Regions from separate parts of the Homo sapiens genome. Here regions 2, 3 and 4 are each linked to region 1. The links are contacts of gene promoters, found by promoter capture Hi-C in blood cells and fetal thymus (Javierre and others, 2016). All regions are on one chromosome and are shown on one strand. Each heading gives the region's core, a stretch centred on a gene start or on the middle of the fragment in contact. The rest is flanking DNA. Distances are from core to core; before and after follow the strand shown.

Region 1 (3,977 bases), core at 147-2,646:
TCAGCACTGATCAGGGAGAAGCTGAGCAGTGGCTTGTGGGCCCAGGAATCTGGGGTCTGGTGGGACAATAGCTATCCCTCAGAAACAAGCAACAGGGCTGACCAGTCACAGCTTTATTAATGACCAGGGTAACCCGTTCAGCTAGGGAGCTCCTCAATGAGAGTTCTTGGGGCAGGTGGCACGGGGCCTCCCCAAAGCCGCTCCAGCTCCCCAGTGAGGGCGGCCACCTCCTCGGCTACCACAGCATGGGCTTGGTGAGCCCTGGCGCAGTCTAGGGCCAGGGGTGTGAGGGCCGCCTCATTTTCGTTGGTCCAGGCCAGGAGGAACTGGCACTTTTTCCGGGCCCGGTAAAGATGATCTCGCTCTTCTCTAGCCACGGCCTGTTTCCGGGCACGGCCCAGGGTCTGTGCCAGGTCCCCCAGTGCTGCCAGCGTGTAGCCTTTCTGGTTGGTCGGGCCCTCGCCCAGCAGGATGCGGGCGACCTCGTGCATAGCCCCTCGTGTGCCCAGGGGCCCCGGCGGGTGCTCGCCTGCTTCCAGCACGTGGGCTGCCGCCTGCAGGGCTTCTTCCGCAGAGGCGAAGACTTGCTGGGCACCCAGGGCTCCGGAAACGCCGAGCAGTGTGGCACAGAAGTCAGAGAGCAGCGCGTCGTCACCGCCGTGATACAGGGCGAGAGTATGCGCGTAGGCGAACAGCACATTGGGCAGCTGGAAGCGCACGAGCGGCGAGACTGGGCCGCGGCTCAGGCTGACTATCGCGGGGATGCGGGTGGGTACGACGGGCGTGCAGGCCCCCGGGACATCTCCAAGAACCCGCTCGGCGGCCGCGGGCTCCGCGGCGGAGGCATCTTTCACAGAATCCGGCGGGGTCCTCGCAGGGGCGAGCTCCAGCTCCGCGGCGTCACTACCCGGGGCATTATCCAGCTCCTCCAGAAGCTGCGGTCCGGCTCCGCGGTTCCACCACCACGGCCGCCATGGAGGCAGCAGCCGCCCGGCCTCACCGCGGCTCAGCAGCCGCTCGAAGGCAGCTTTTTCGCCCGGCGCCAGCCGCTCCCAGAGTCCCGATAGGCCGCCGGGCGCCGGGCCGGAGCTGAGGCCTGCTTCCCCAGGCTCGTCCTCGGTCTCGCGTTGCTGACGCAGCCGGCGTAGGGCGCTTGCTAGGCGGCTGGGAGGAGCGCTGCAACCGCGGAGCTCTCCCAGCACCTGGTCACGGTAGAAGTTTTCTGCGCAGGTGCCATGCGTCCGGTAGCAGCGCAGCGAGCAGTAGGGCGCATTACAGCGAGGGCAGGTGTAACGCGCTGGCTGGACCTCCCCCGCCGGGCAGAAGCCACAGGGCCCGGCCGGCTCCATGGCAACTGGCACCGCGATCTACCTGCGAACGCACGCCGGTGGTAGTTCGAAACTTCCGGGGCTTCTTCGATTACTTCCGGTTCGCAGCGCGGCCGACGGCGCGCTGTGTTTTCGCAAAGCTTCCGAGGATTCTCGGCAATTTCCGCCCACGCCCGAAAGCCAAGCCCCACCCCTTTCCCTAGTAGGGCGAGAGCAGGCCCAGAAGCCGGGCGTCAGGTACGAGCCCCGCCCTATGCGATGACGCAAGGAGCGAAAAAATGGGTCTGGCGAGCGCTTCGCCGGTGCCACGTCTCCCCCTAGTGGTCACACCAAAACGTGGCCCGATCATCTAAAGAGAAAACCCTCTTTTTAGCACTACAATGTGCTGTGGCATAAATCCATCTTTACTAGGCACCTACTCTGGGCCACTAATTGTGCCAAGCCTACGGGAGGCGATGCATCCCTGCGCTGGACACAGACAAATAAAATGCACTAGGGGACACAGACAAATAAAAGGACAGTTAGGGCCAGGTACGGTGGGTCACGCCGGTAATCCCAGCATTTTGGGAGGCCGAGGCGGGCAGATGACCTGAGGTCAGGAGTTTGAGACCAGCCTGACCAACATGGAGAAACCCCGTCTCTACTAAGAATACAAAATTAGCCGGGCGTGGGGGACGGGTGCTTGTAGTCCCAGCTACTCCTGAGGCTGAGGCAGGGGAATCGCTTGAACCCGGGAGGTGGAGGCTGCAGTTAGCCGAGATCGCGCCACCGCTCTCCAGCCTGCGAGCCTGGGCCACAGAGAGAAACTCCACCTCAAAAAGATAAATAGAAAGCAGCATTTAAGAAATATCTGAGCTCCTATGATTTTTTTCCTCCAAAACTGCCTCTTCTTTTCATTAAGTATCTTCTCATTAAATACCACTATTCATCCATCTTATTAAGTGCAGGCCCCATTCTAGGTGCCAAGAACACAATGCACATCAAAGGGAGCCGGGGGTCCCTGTTCTAATAGAGCTCACTCTTGTGGTGGAGTGGGGGGTGTGATGAACCAAACTGTGAGTGTTCTTTGCATCCCTGCTACTACTGGTGGTCTAAGCTTCCTGACCCCTCATGTGGATGACAACACATTAAGTGTTTTTCCTAACTTTCTTGCCAGCCCTCCAGAAAAACCTGCCAGAGAAATTAGATCACAAGTCAGATGAGATCCATCTGTTACTCAAAACCCTTCTGCGACCCTCCATTGCACTTGGACTCAAACCCAAACTCCTCTCTATGGCTGACAAGGCCTTGCAGGATCTGCCCGCCCCCAGCCCTAGACATCACCTCTTCCCCATCTTCACACAGTCCTCTAGGCTTGAAATATTCCCCTACCTGATCACTTGACTGGTTCATCTCAGGTCTCACTCACGTCATTTAAACAGGACCTCTCGGCTGGGCACAGCGGCTGACACCTGTAATCTCAGCACTTTGGGAGGCCAAGGTGGGCGGATCACTTGAGCCCAGTTCAAGACCAGCCTGGGCAACATAGCAAAACCCTGTCTCTACAAAAAAGTACAAAAAATTAGCCAGGTGTGGCGGTGCATGCCTGTAGTCCTCAGCTACTTTGGAGGCTGAGTAGGATCACCTGGGCCCAGGAGTTGGCGGCTGCAGTGAGCCATGATTGTGCAACTGCACTCCAGCCTGGATGAGAGAGACCTTGTCTCAAAAACAAAAAAGAAAAGGCCGGGCACTGTGGCTCATGGCTGTAATCCCAGTACTTTGGGAGGCCGAGGTGGGCGATCACGAGGTCAAGAGATCGAGACCATCCTGGCCAACATGGGGAAACCCCATGTCTACTAAAAATACAAAAATTAGCTGGGCGTGGTGGCACATGCCTGTAGTCCCAGCTACTCAGGGGGCTGAGGCAGGAGAATGGCGTGAACCCGGGAGGCTGAGGTTGCAGTGAGCTCGGATTGTGCCACTGCACTCCAGCCTGGCGACAGTGCGAGACTCTGTCTCAATAAAATAAAATAAAGAAAAAAGAAAAACAAAAAAAGAGGCCCTCTCTGGGATGCTATTGTATCTGTCCACATCCTCCCCCTTTCTAAACTGCTGGAAGGCAGAAACCATGTCTTTAACACCACAGAGACAAAAATAGCCAAGATTCACACACTCACTGTAAGCCAGATGTTGATTTACATCCTTTAACCCTCACAGCAGCCCTGGAGATGGCAGAGATTAAATTAGTAGTTAGTTCAAAGGCCAGCCACCCAGTAAATGGAGTAGGAAGAAAAAGAAGGTCCAAACTCAGGCAGTCAAAGTCCACAGCCCAAGGGCTTTACCCTGTTGGATGCTATTTCTCAAGAACTGGCAGGTCCAGAAACTTTAGCTGAATGAGTAAGTGGGGTTCAGAAGTGCTGGGAGGCTCAGTTGCCAGAAGAGAACCCTGAATCAGCCCCAGAGGTAACCCAACTTTTGGGAACACTGAAACCTCACTATATCCAATCACAGATGTGATTAGGTTACCAAGTCCGGCCAGGCAGTCACAGAGGTACAAACGAGGCCATGCTCCCAACATAATATTTACTTCTAAAACCAAGGCAGACCAGATTCCTGCCCTGGACTCTAAGGCCACAGCTGGTACCAAGTTCAGGGAACGGCCAGGTTCAC
Region 2 (3,615 bases), core at 32-2,531, 350 kb before region 1:
AAAGGGGAAAAACTTGTTAAGAAGGAAGCTTTTATCCTGAGGAACCAACATATGGAAAGTTCTGAAGAATTCAATCACCAGATCATCACACATCTTTCTAACCCCTTACTGGGCATGGCTCTCAACAGTCTCATCAGATCTTCAGTTTCGTGCCCAGTTCTGCATCTGGGATCACCAGAGTAGAGGGGCCCCTGGGCGAAGAGCACAGGAGACCCTGAGCACCGATGAAGCACAGGTTCTCTCAAGTCAATTTCATCAAACTTCATTCCCAGTTTGAGGAAAGGAAAATCTATGCAAGACTGGCACAACTGCCAGAACGAACTTCCTAAACAAAACCTTACATATTCGCCAGCCAGTCAGAAAGTGTTGATATCGAGTGCTGACTTGCAACTGGTCAGAAATCTGTAGAGATTGCTTAGTCTTCTTGAACCAATTCTGAACAGCAAAAGCAGTGAATTTCCTATTGAGCCCCAGTAAAAACATACCCAAAATGGAAACTTCCAGTTTTCTTGGGCTCAAGACAAACAAACAGGGGTATCTGTACAGCCTATTTCTAATCATCCTGGGCTTTAAATCACACCATTACAGACCACACTAACAGAAAGGATGTTTCTCTTGGTAAGATTAACAGCAACCAATGAATGTGCCAGAAAAGTTGTCCTGCACATCGCAGGCTACCAGGAAACCGCAAGAGCCAGCCCCTCACCTTTGGAATTTACAGTCTGAAGCAATGTGGCCAGCCCCTCCACACTTGGTACACACTGTGGTGTTGGTAATGCTGCGGGTCTCTGAGCTCTGCCAGGGTCTTAAGATCCTATTAAAGGAAAAAGAGGTCAATGCAAGGGAACAATCTCTACTTCCATAGGTTCTTCAGGTCTCTACACTCTCCTTTAAACTGATCACATACCTGTTATCGTCTTCCCGAAGGGTCCCATTTAAGCGAGCCAACTCCCGAAGCTGCATCTTCCGTAGATCATTCTGGTCCTCTGGAGTCTCGATACCCTGCTTCAGGATGTTTCTTATCTAGTGAAAATGCAATGGACAGTTAAGTGCTTAGGGCCTCCACCTAGGTTTCTGCTAGGAGGCTTCCTTTCTGGGCTCACCGCTCACCTGTTCCACTGCCTTTTTGACGTTCTCCATTGTATTGGCAGTAACCAGGGCATGAAGTGGCTCATCTTCTCCTGGCAACATCTGGCCATCTTTGCGCCCAACCTTCCCTTCTTTCACAGACCCTTTCCCCCGGATCATAATCTTGGCATTGCACTCCTTCTCTATGTTCTTCAGGGTGTTCCCTCTAGAGAGGCAGAAATGACTAAGTTTATACCTGACAAATTCACACTCAAGAGGGAAGAGAGGCTGGACCAATTTGGCATTGGTGGGAAACCACAAGCGCAGAGAATTGGATTTTCCCACCAAGAGCTCCATGAACTCTATATTATGGTCAGCCACAGTAAACCTGAGGATTTGACTTCTCCGCACTAGTGGGGAAGTTAAGACACCTTCTCACAGAAAGGCATTAATTCAGCCAAAATGAAATGTCCTACCAAAAAGGGGAAAAGTAAGCCAACAGTCCCCAATTAGGCACAAAACGGACACATCTCACAGGCTCTAAAGGAATTCTATATCCTATAGACCAGCAGTTACTCACCTGGGCCCGATGAGCAGCCCCACAAAGTTGATTTCTGGGTACTCATCTTGTGGAATCATGACTTTATCACTCACACGTGTTGCTGGAGGTCTAAGAAAGAAAAGCCTGTGTCACCGCACATTTCTGGAGAATGACACAGCCAGCGGCTTTTCTAAAACCAAATATTGGTACCAAGTGCTAATTATGGGTGACTTGAGGCAAGAGGTGAGTAGTACCAATACTGTCCCATCCCAGCAGGTCACCCATGATCTGCATGTGTCTTCATCCCAGATGACCGAGCCCCTCCGCTTACTTGTAATCTGCAGGTGGCTTGAAATCCGGATTGAGTGCAACCATCTCTGTGATGAGGTTGTGCCGCTCCTCTTCCAGCTTTTTGCGGGTGCGGAACTCTCGGGTGTTAAGCCGCTTCCCCTCGCTATTGTAGATGGGCTCAGGGGAAGGGGACCTGTGGGAAACAGACTCCCGTTTACTATTCTGCACCGACTTCTCTCATTCCCACACGGACTATAACAAGTCTTTCCCAGCCCCTCTGCCTCTCAGACCCTAATACAACACTCTTCGGAGGAACCGACCATAACGTGTGCTACTCAAGATCGTGTGGAATGGGGAGATGGAAGCTGGCTTAACGTTAGGGGTCTGGGGTGTGTGTGAGAAAGGAAAAAAATAAAAGATTTTGCATCTAGAAGTGATGAGAGGAAAAAATGTCTATTCTTTGGGGAAAATCTTTGGACTGTAAGTGGCAAGGACAGTATCATCCCCTGGAGTCTTCTTGCCAAATACGGATTTTCTTCCATTTGAAAAAAAATACATATCCCAACTTTATGAACCACAGAAACCCCAAGTTTAGGCAAAAGGTTAACTCTTGGAGAGCTCATGCCCTATGAGGAAAAGCTTCTGTACCCCTAACACATAGTATGTATGAGCTCTTTAACCCAATGCAACTGGGACTGAAGGCTACTGCAGCTACTTGGCCCCCACAATGGAGAGAGATGGTTCGCTTCGTCTTTGCTTTTCCTTCAATGGCCTGGCTGGCTGTGTCCAAGGCCCAGGAGACAACCTGTTTTCTGGCTGTTCGAGGTTGGGGAGTCTGGGTAGAGAAAAACGTTAAAGTGCTAAAGCAGCTTCTGCGAGAGGCTGCAAATGCAGATTTGGTCATACTTGTCTAGGGTCTGAACCTGCAAACAGCAAGGGGAAAACCTATGATTCTCCACCAGAGTTTACAAGTCCAGAAAGCAGATTTTCTCTCTCTCATTTTTTTAAGGAGTAAAATGCTGTTGCTACAAGTAAAAAAATGTAATGATAAAATGGTCAGTTTACCACAGCTGGATTTTGCGGTAATAAAAAAGAGAGGTTACACTCCTAGAATTTTGAGTTAAGATTACAAAAAGGACCATAGCTTGATATTCTGAATGAAAATTTAGTAGCAGCTGCAAGAAGGGAAGAGACCATGTGGATCAGGTTATTAAAAAAACATACTGAAAGTAATCAAGACTCCTATACCCTTGGTTTAGTTGAGAGAACCTTGCCTAGTTGGAGAGCAAGGACTGAACTCGGCTGCTCCCACTGTCTTCAGCCTAAAGGGAACCATGTCACACCACGTTACACACACGATGGAATAAAAGGTCAGGTTTGTTCATGGCTAATGACGGCTAAATGACACCTCCGTTTCTAGCATTTGTATAAACTGTTAGCACAATCCATTAAGAGTGAACAAAAGCAAACATACCCCAGCTCATTAGACTACCATCTTATACATTTAAGTCTACAAGAAAAGTTTTAAACATGTTTTTACTGTGCAAGTTAAGCAGCATCAAAATAACAATAAAGTGGCTTAAGTGATATAACACCTTTTTAAGAAATTATCTTAATTAAGAAAACCCATGCATTTCCCTCCAACCTGGGCTCAAAAGCAAAACCAATCAGGCATTAGGGCCTCTTTCAAAACTGAATAGAAGGGAGGAAAAACC
Region 3 (3,855 bases), core at 1,356-3,855, 370 kb before region 1:
TTTGGGAGGCCGAGGCGGGTGGATTACTTGAGGTCAGGAGTTCAAGACCAGCCTGGCCAACATGATGAAACCCCATCTCTACAAAAATACAAAAATTACCTGGGCGTGATGGTGGGTGCCTGTAATCCCAGCTACTCGGGAGGCTGAGGTGAGAGAATCACTTGAACCTGGGAGGCGGAGGTTGCAGTGAGCCAAAATCATGCCATTGCACTCCAGCCTAGGTGACAGAGTGACTCTGTCTCAAAAACATAAAAATAAATAGGCCAGGCGCAGTGGCTCACCCCTGTAAGCCCAGCACTTGGGAGGCCGAGGAGGGTGGATCACCTGAGGTCAGGAGATAGAGACCATCCTGGCCAAAATGATGAAACCCCGTCTCTACTAAAAATACAAAAATTAGCTGGGCGTGGTGGTGGGTATCTGTAATCCCAGCTACTCAGGAGGCTGAGGCAGGAGAATCGCTTGTACCCGGGCGGTGGAGGTTGCGGTGAGCCAAGATCGTGCCATTGCACTGCGGCCTGGGTGACAGAGCAAGACTCCATCTCAAAACAAAACAAAAGGCCGGGCGCAGTGGCTCACGCCTGTAATCCCAGCACTTTGGGAGGCCGAGGCAGGCAGATCACGAGGTCAGCAGATCGAGACCATCCTGGCTAACATGGTGAAACCCCGTCTCTACTAAAAATGCAAAAAATTAGCCAGGCGTGGCAGCAGGTGCCTGTAGTCCCAGCTACTCGGGAGGTAGAGGCAGGAGAATGGTGTGAACCCAGGAGGCGGAGCTTGCAGTGAGCCAAGATCGCGCCACTGCACTCCAGCCTGGGTGACAGAGCGAGACTCCGTCTCAAAAAAAAAAATACATTAAAATAAAATAAAATAAAATTTTTTAATGTAATGCCAGGATAATGTCTTCTCTGAAGAACTGTTTCTGACCATAGGCCCCTTGTAACTACTGTGCCCATATTTCCCTTTTGCCCATGGCTTTCAGGGAGCAAGGATTTTTTTTTTTTTTTTTGAGGCAGAGTCTCACTCTGTTACCCAGGCTGGAGCGCAGTGGCGCGATCTCGGCTCACTGCAAGCTCCGCCTCCTGGATTCACACCATTCTCCTGCCTCAGCCTCCCGATCAGCTGGGACTACAGGCGCCTGCCAACACGCCCGGCTAATTTTTTGTATTTTTAGTAGAGATGGGGTTTCACCGTGTTAGCCAGGATGGTCTGGATCTCTTGACCTTGTGATCCGCCCGCCTTGGCCTCCCAAAGTGCTGGGATTACAGGTGTGAGCCACCGCACCCGGCGTAGAGCAAGGATTTTTTTACTTCCATTTCCCAAACAATATTATCTCTTAGGGTTGATATAATATTCTCTTCCTTTTCCTTCAGTTCTATATTACTTCTTTCTTTTCCAATTTCATTAACCTTATTTGCTGTAAGCGCCCTCTAAAGTTTCCCAGAATCCTGCTGGCCATGACCAAGACCTTGCTGGGCCTGGACCAGTCTTTCCAGACGTGCCGCTTGCTCCCAGCACCACTCTCCAGCAGCCACACCTGGGTGTCTTTTGCCCGTGAACCCTGACCCCCATACCCTCTTTGGTCAAGCTTATCCACATCCTCCACCCGCATGCCAAAGATGAAGAAGTTTTCCTCTCCCGCCTCTTCTGCCATCTCCACATTGGCCCCGTCCATGGTGCCAATGGTCAGAGCCCCGTTGAGCATGAACTTCATGTTGCCGGTGCCTGAGGCTTCAGTGCCCGCAGTGGAGATCTGCTCAGAGAGGTCTGCAGCTGGGATCACTGTGGGGTGGCAGCAGGGGGACAAGTCAACTCAGGGAAGACCCTCACACCAGCTGGGGACTCTCAGATTAGGCTGGCCCCAGGCATAGCTGGACTCAGAGTCGCCCCACCCCAAACTCCCAGTCTTCACCAGCCAAGCCTCCCTCTCACACCGCACCCCCACTGCCCTCTACCTCTTGTTGATTCTTGACCATCTAGGTCCAACCTGGATTTCCCCACCTCTGTTGCAGATTTGAAGGTAATTTCACCCTGTACTGCCTGAAATTCCACCATTAGAGGGCATCCTCATGGGGTTTTTGCTTTGTTTTGTTTCCTCTTGTTTTTTGAGACGGAGTTTTGCTTTTGTTGCCCAGGCTGAAGTGCAATGGCGTGATCTCGGCTCACTGCAACCTCCGCCTCCCAGGTTCAAGTGATTCTCCTGCTTCAGCCTCCCAAGTAGCTGGGATTATAGGCACCTGCCATCACGCCCAGCTAATTTTTGTATTTTTAGTAGAGACGGGGTTTCACCATGTTGGCCAGGCTGGTCTCGAACTCCTGACCTCAGGTGATCCACCCACCTTGGCCTCCCAAAGTGCTGGGATTACAGGCATGGGCCACTGCGCCTGGCCTCCTCATGGTTTAAGCATTGCCCTCTCCAGATTCTTCTTTCAAGTACAAGTATCCCAGGAAGAGACGACTGATACCTCTTCCTGAGACTGAACTAGTCAGAGCCTCCCTAGGGTCCCTGTTGGCAGCACCCACCTTTCTCGGCCAGTGAGACTCGGTAGTTCTCCAGGAAGATGACACGGAGGCGGTCACCCACTGCCGGGTCATGGTTGACCACATCCCCGATGGCTGTGACGAGTCTGATGATCATCTTGGCCATGTGGTACCCAGGTGCAGCCTGAGGGGACAAAGTCTGGGGTCAGCTCTACTGCCTGGCCCCCCACCCCCTATCCTGCAACTCAGCTGGGCTGACCTCAACCTGGATATATCAAAGGACGGGAGCCCAGGGCTGGAGCCTGGCTTCTCACCTTCCCTCCAATCATCACAGTCCGAGGCACAAAAAACTTATTGGGCTCCCTCTTGATGCCTGTGGAGAAACGAGAGGGATCCAGTGGGCCTACCTTTCCCTCTGGGTAGTAGCTCCTGACAGAGGCTGGGCTGGGACACCGTAGGCCTGACTCGAACAATCACTTGCTATGCTCTCTTAGCCTCAGTTTGCCCATCTGTGAAATGGGGATAATTCCATGTCCCAAGAGTAGTCCCAAGTCCAAAGGAGATGTTGGTTGGGCAATATGTACTATGCCGCAGGAACACGGGGGAGCACTGAGAGACAGGGTAGAGTGGCTGCCACTCACGGTTGTACAGGGTGATGACATGGAGGCAGTTGAGGAGCTGTCGTTTATATTCGTGAATCCGCTTCACCTGGATGTCGAAGAGTGAGTTGGGGTTGATGTGGACTTTGTATTCCCTCTCTAGGTAGGCAGCAAACTTCAACTTGTTTTCCTGGAGGCAGAGACGGGGAAGGGCTCACCAACAGGCCACAGCCTCAGGAAATCCTACAGTCCACACTCCAGTCAGCCCCAGGAGGATGGCTACCAGGAGGCTCACTGGCTACTTCTGTCCACTCCTGTACCAGGGCAGACATTGCTAATCAATGTCAGCACTGTTCATGTGAGGTCAGATGATGCCTTCCCACCACAGACTCCAGGCAACTTCCACCAACGGCCTGGGCTGGCAGGAGAGATGAGCTCTATTTGCCACGCCTGACCCAGACATCTGGCCCCTCCAGCGCTCTCCACACAGCACAGCTGTCCCACATTGCATCTCTCCCCACCTGCTTCACTTTGGCCACATCCCGAATGAAAGCTTCATCATCCACAAAGGAGAGCAGTTTGCGCAGCTGGTCCAGGTCAGAGATGAAGTCCTCCCCGATGCGCTATGGGAAGACGGCTCTCAGCCAAGCCCATCCCCATGTCCTCCCTCCTCCCAACACAGAAGGGGCCATTTCCAGGTCAGCCAAGCCCCCTTCACCCAGCAGGCTGCTCTGGGGGCCCTCCCAGCCCCTCCTCCTCCAGCCGCCCAGATGGGGCA
Region 4 (4,007 bases), core at 1,020-3,519, 380 kb after region 1:
GAGACTGACAGAAGTGCTGGAGAGGAAGGGAGGCAGCAGGACGTGGAAAATCTGGGATTCAAGAACAGCTTCTGCTATTAATTAGCTGTGTGTCATTTCAGGCAAATCACAAAATCTCCAGGCCCCCAAATCCCCATTTGCGAAACGAGGTGACCTGCCTCAGTTTTCCTTCATCCAGCGATAAAATTCTACTAAAAAATTTCCAACCCCAGAGCAAGCATCAGGACTGTGCCTGAAGGGATCCGGCTGCATCTCAGTAATATTCCACTCTTACAGGCTTAAAAATAAAAAAGAAAAGAAAAGAAAACAAGAACAGTTTCACCAGCGTCAATTGAGAACAGCTGCTTCAACAGGCCCTGCTTTATGTGGGCAGGTGGGGACAGGGAGTTGGCCCAGAAAACAGGACCCTCATTTCCTGGAGCCCCCAGGGCAGCTCCCCAACACCGTACACAACCTGCATCATTTACAGGAGCCAAAGGAGTTTTAGAAATCAACTTCATAGAGTTGCTGTATCATTGTGTTAGTTTTGCCATCCTAACCTATACAGCGTCACTAATCTCTCCCCTCGGAGTTGACTGCCTAAAAACAAGCCATGGATACAGGTTCCAAAGACCCGGGGGTGAGGGAGCGGAGAGGGTGGGTGTCACCACCCCGTCCAGCTCCAAGCTTTGTGTGCCCTGGAACTCTCCATTTTAGGTCATTGCTTCAGTTTCTTTTCTAAAAAATTAGGCTGCTGCAAGGTCAGCCTGAGACCACTTCTGCCCCGAGAATTCTAGACTAGTAAGACCTGGTGACATACAAACGACGAAGATATTTTACAATAATGCCATGGCCCTTGATAGCTACACGAGGTTTGTGTTCTGATTTTAAATTAATGGATGACGTCGAGACTATATGGAGGAAATGACAAAGGACAGGAGAGAGGTGGGAAAGGAAGACCTAGACTGAAAATGGAAGTTGGGCAGCAGCTCCACGAAAGAAAGACCAGCCCCCAAGTGCAGTGACAGCGCAGAGTAGCGACCGAGAAGTTCCCAGGCCAGCTGCCACCCCGCCCCCATGCCATTCCCCAGAACAGGCACAGGCGTTAGGGCGGGGCGCGCGTGCGCAGTCACGCGCTGCGCCAACCGCCACAGCTCCGGGAAGGCGGCCAGGACCGGCTAGAGCCGGTTAGAACCAGTGGCGCCCGCCCACGAGCCAGCGCCTCACAAAGGGAGGGCGGCTCACGGCCCTCGCGTATCCCTGCGCGGCGCTCGCGAGCCGCCCCTCCCCCGGCGTTTGTCCCTGACGCAGCCCCACCGGTTGCGCAGTCCCTCCCCGCCCCCGCTCTCCCCTCCGCAGCCTGCAGCCCGAGACTTCTGTAAAGGACTGGGGCCCCGCAACTGGCCTCTCCTGCCCTCTTAAGCGCAGCGCCATTTTAGCAACGCAGAAGCCCGGCGCCGGGAAGCCTCAGCTCGCCTGAAGGCAGGTCCCCTCTGACGCCTCCGGGAGCCCAGGTTTCCCAGAGTCCTTGGGACGCAGCGACGAGTTGTGCTGCTATCTTAGCTGTCCTTATAGGCTGGCCATTCCAGGTGGTGGTATTTAGATAAAACCACTCAAACTCTGCAGTTTGGTCTTGGGGTTTGGAGGAAAGCTTTTATTTTTCTTCCTGCTCCGGTTCAGAAGGTCTGAAGCTCATACCTAACCAGGCATAACACAGAATCTGCAAAACAAAAACCCCTAAAAAAGCAGACCCAGAGCAGTGTAAACACTTCTGGGTGTGTCCCTGACTGGCTGCCCAAGGTCTCTGTGTCTTCGGAGACAAAGCCATTCGCTTAGTTGGTCTACTTTAAAAGGCCACTTGAACTCGCTTTCCATGGCGATTTGCCTTGTGAGCACTTTCAGGAGAGCCTGGAAGCTGAAAAACGGTAGAAAAATTTCCGTGCGGGCCGTGGGGGGCTGGCGGCAACTGGGGGGCCGCAGATCAGAGTGGGCCACTGGCAGCCAACGGCCCCCGGGGCTCAGGCGGGGAGCAGCTCTGTGGTGTGGGATTGAGGCGTTTTCCAAGAGTGGGTTTTCACGTTTCTAAGATTTCCCAAGCAGACAGCCCGTGCTGCTCCGATTTCTCGAACAAAAAAGCAAAACGTGTGGCTGTCTTGGGAGCAAGTCGCAGGACTGCAAGCAGTTGGGGGAGAAAGTCCGCCATTTTGCCACTTCTCAACCGTCCCTGCAAGGCTGGGGCTCAGTTGCGTAATGGAAAGTAAAGCCCTGAACTATCACACTTTAATCTTCCTTCAAAAGGTGGTAAACTATACCTACTGTCCCTCAAGAGAACACAAGAAGTGCTTTAAGAGGTATTTTAAAAGTTCCGGGGGTTTTGTGAGGTGTTTGATGACCCGTTTAAAATATGATTTCCATGTTTCTTTTGTCTAAAGTTTGCAGCTCAAATCTTTCCACACGCTAGTAATTTAAGTATTTCTGCATGTGTAGTTTGCATTCAAGTTCCATAAGCTGTTAAGAAAAATCTAGAAAAGTAAAACTAGAACCTATTTTTAACCGAAGAACTACTTTTTGCCTCCCTCACAAAGGCGGCGGAAGGTGATCGAATTCCGGTGATGCGAGTTGTTCTCCGTCTATAAATACGCCTCGCCCGAGCTGTGCGGTAGGCATTGAGGCAGCCAGCGCAGGGGCTTCTGCTGAGGGGGCAGGCGGAGCTTGAGGAAACCGCAGATAAGTTTTTTTCTCTTTGAAAGATAGAGATTAATACAACTACTTAAAAAATATAGTCAATAGGTTACTAAGATATTGCTTAGCGTTAAGTTTTTAACGTAATTTTAATAGCTTAAGATTTTAAGAGAAAATATGAAGACTTAGAAGAGTAGCATGAGGAAGGAAAAGATAAAAGGTTTCTAAAACATGACGGAGGTTGAGATGAAGCTTCTTCATGGAGTAAAAAATGTATTTAAAAGAAAATTGAGAGAAAGGACTACAGAGCCCCGAATTAATACCAATAGAAGGGCAATGCTTTTAGATTAAAATGAAGGTGACTTAAACAGCTTAAAGTTTAGTTTAAAAGTTGTAGGTGATTAAAATAATTTGAAGGCGATCTTTTAAAAAGAGATTAAACCGAAGGTGATTAAAAGACCTTGAAATCCATGACGCAGGGAGAATTGCGTCATTTAAAGCCTAGTTAACGCATTTACTAAACGCAGACGAAAATGGAAAGATTAATTGGGAGTGGTAGGATGAAACAATTTGGAGAAGATAGAAGTTTGAAGTGGAAAACTGGAAGACAGAAGTACGGGAAGGCGAAGAAAAGAATAGAGAAGATAGGGAAATTAGAAGATAAAAACATACTTTTAGAAGAAAAAAGATAAATTTAAACCTGAAAAGTAGGAAGCAGAAGAAAAAAGACAAGCTAGGAAACAAAAAGCTAAGGGCAAAATGTACAAACTTAGAAGAAAATTGGAAGATAGAAACAAGATAGAAAATGAAAATATTGTCAAGAGTTTCAGATAGAAAATGAAAAACAAGCTAAGACAAGTATTGGAGAAGTATAGAAGATAGAAAAATATAAAGCCAAAAATTGGATAAAATAGCACTGAAAAAATGAGGAAATTATTGGTAACCAATTTATTTTAAAAGCCCATCAATTTAATTTCTGGTGGTGCAGAAGTTAGAAGGTAAAGCTTGAGAAGATGAGGGTGTTTACGTAGACCAGAACCAATTTAGAAGAATACTTGAAGCTAGAAGGGGAAGTTGGTTAAAAATCACATCAAAAAGCTACTAAAAGGACTGGTGTAATTTAAAAAAAACTAAGGCAGAAGGCTTTTGGAAGAGTTAGAAGAATTTGGAAGGCCTTAAATATAGTAGCTTAGTTTGAAAAATGTGAAGGACTTTCGTAACGGAAGTAATTCAAGATCAAGAGTAATTACCAACTTAATGTTTTTGCATTGGACTTTGAGTTAAGATTATTTTTTAAATCCTGAGGACTAGCATTAATTGACAGCTGACCCAGGTGCTACACAGAA

What was found. Contacts are between HindIII fragments. The CHiCAGO score rates a contact against its expected background, and 5 or more counts as called.
Region 2: a fragment that was not itself captured here is called in contact with the fragment with the promoter of ZNHIT2 in region 1 in 3 of 17 cell types (naive CD8 T cells, naive CD4 T cells and M1 macrophages); the score reaches 5.8 in naive CD8 T cells.
Region 3: a fragment that was not itself captured here is called in contact with the fragment with the promoter of ZNHIT2 in region 1 in 1 of 17 cell types (naive B cells); the score reaches 5.2 in naive B cells.
Region 4: a contact is called between a fragment that was not itself captured here and the fragment with the promoter of ZNHIT2 in region 1, in 1 of 17 cell types (fetal thymus). The highest score is 5.4, in fetal thymus.

What each region holds. Positions count from the first base shown.
Region 1 is chr11:65,116,305-65,120,281 of GRCh38, forward strand. ZNHIT2 (zinc finger HIT-type containing 2) reads right to left here and starts at 1,397. Exons shown (of 1, transcript NM_014205.4): 1 at 99-1,397. The coding sequence starts at 1,349. The coding sequence ends at 138. RefSeq lists enhancers at 1-270, 817-1,360, 1,353-1,647. The HindIII fragment of the contact is 3,565 bases long and covers 1-1,466 here.
Region 2 is chr11:64,768,316-64,771,930 of GRCh38, forward strand. SF1 (splicing factor 1) reads right to left here. Exons shown (of 13, transcript NM_004630.4): 4 at 1,941-2,093; 5 at 1,649-1,738; 6 at 1,111-1,294; 7 at 908-1,023; 8 at 707-814. Among named protein-coding and RNA genes, the nearest start is that of SF1, 8.4 kb to the right of the region's middle. The HindIII fragment of the contact is 2,511 bases long and covers 27-2,537 here.
Region 3 is chr11:64,748,805-64,752,659 of GRCh38, forward strand. PYGM (glycogen phosphorylase, muscle associated) reads right to left here. Exons shown (of 20, transcript NM_005609.4): 13 at 3,599-3,700; 14 at 3,120-3,267; 15 at 2,793-2,851; 16 at 2,521-2,662; 17 at 1,572-1,779. Among named protein-coding and RNA genes, the nearest start is that of RASGRP2, 6.6 kb to the left of the region's middle. The HindIII fragment of the contact is 2,045 bases long and covers 1,584-3,628 here.
Region 4 is chr11:65,496,405-65,500,411 of GRCh38, forward strand. MALAT1 (metastasis associated lung adenocarcinoma transcript 1) reads left to right here and starts at 2,641. Exons shown (of 1, transcript NR_002819.5): 1 at 2,641-4,007. It also overlaps TALAM1. RefSeq lists enhancers at 633-1,832, 802-1,241, 1,028-1,172, 1,402-1,641, 1,702-1,771 and 2 more, a cis regulatory region at 1,093-1,108 and a silencer at 1,302-1,361. The HindIII fragment of the contact is 1,283 bases long and covers 1,629-2,911 here.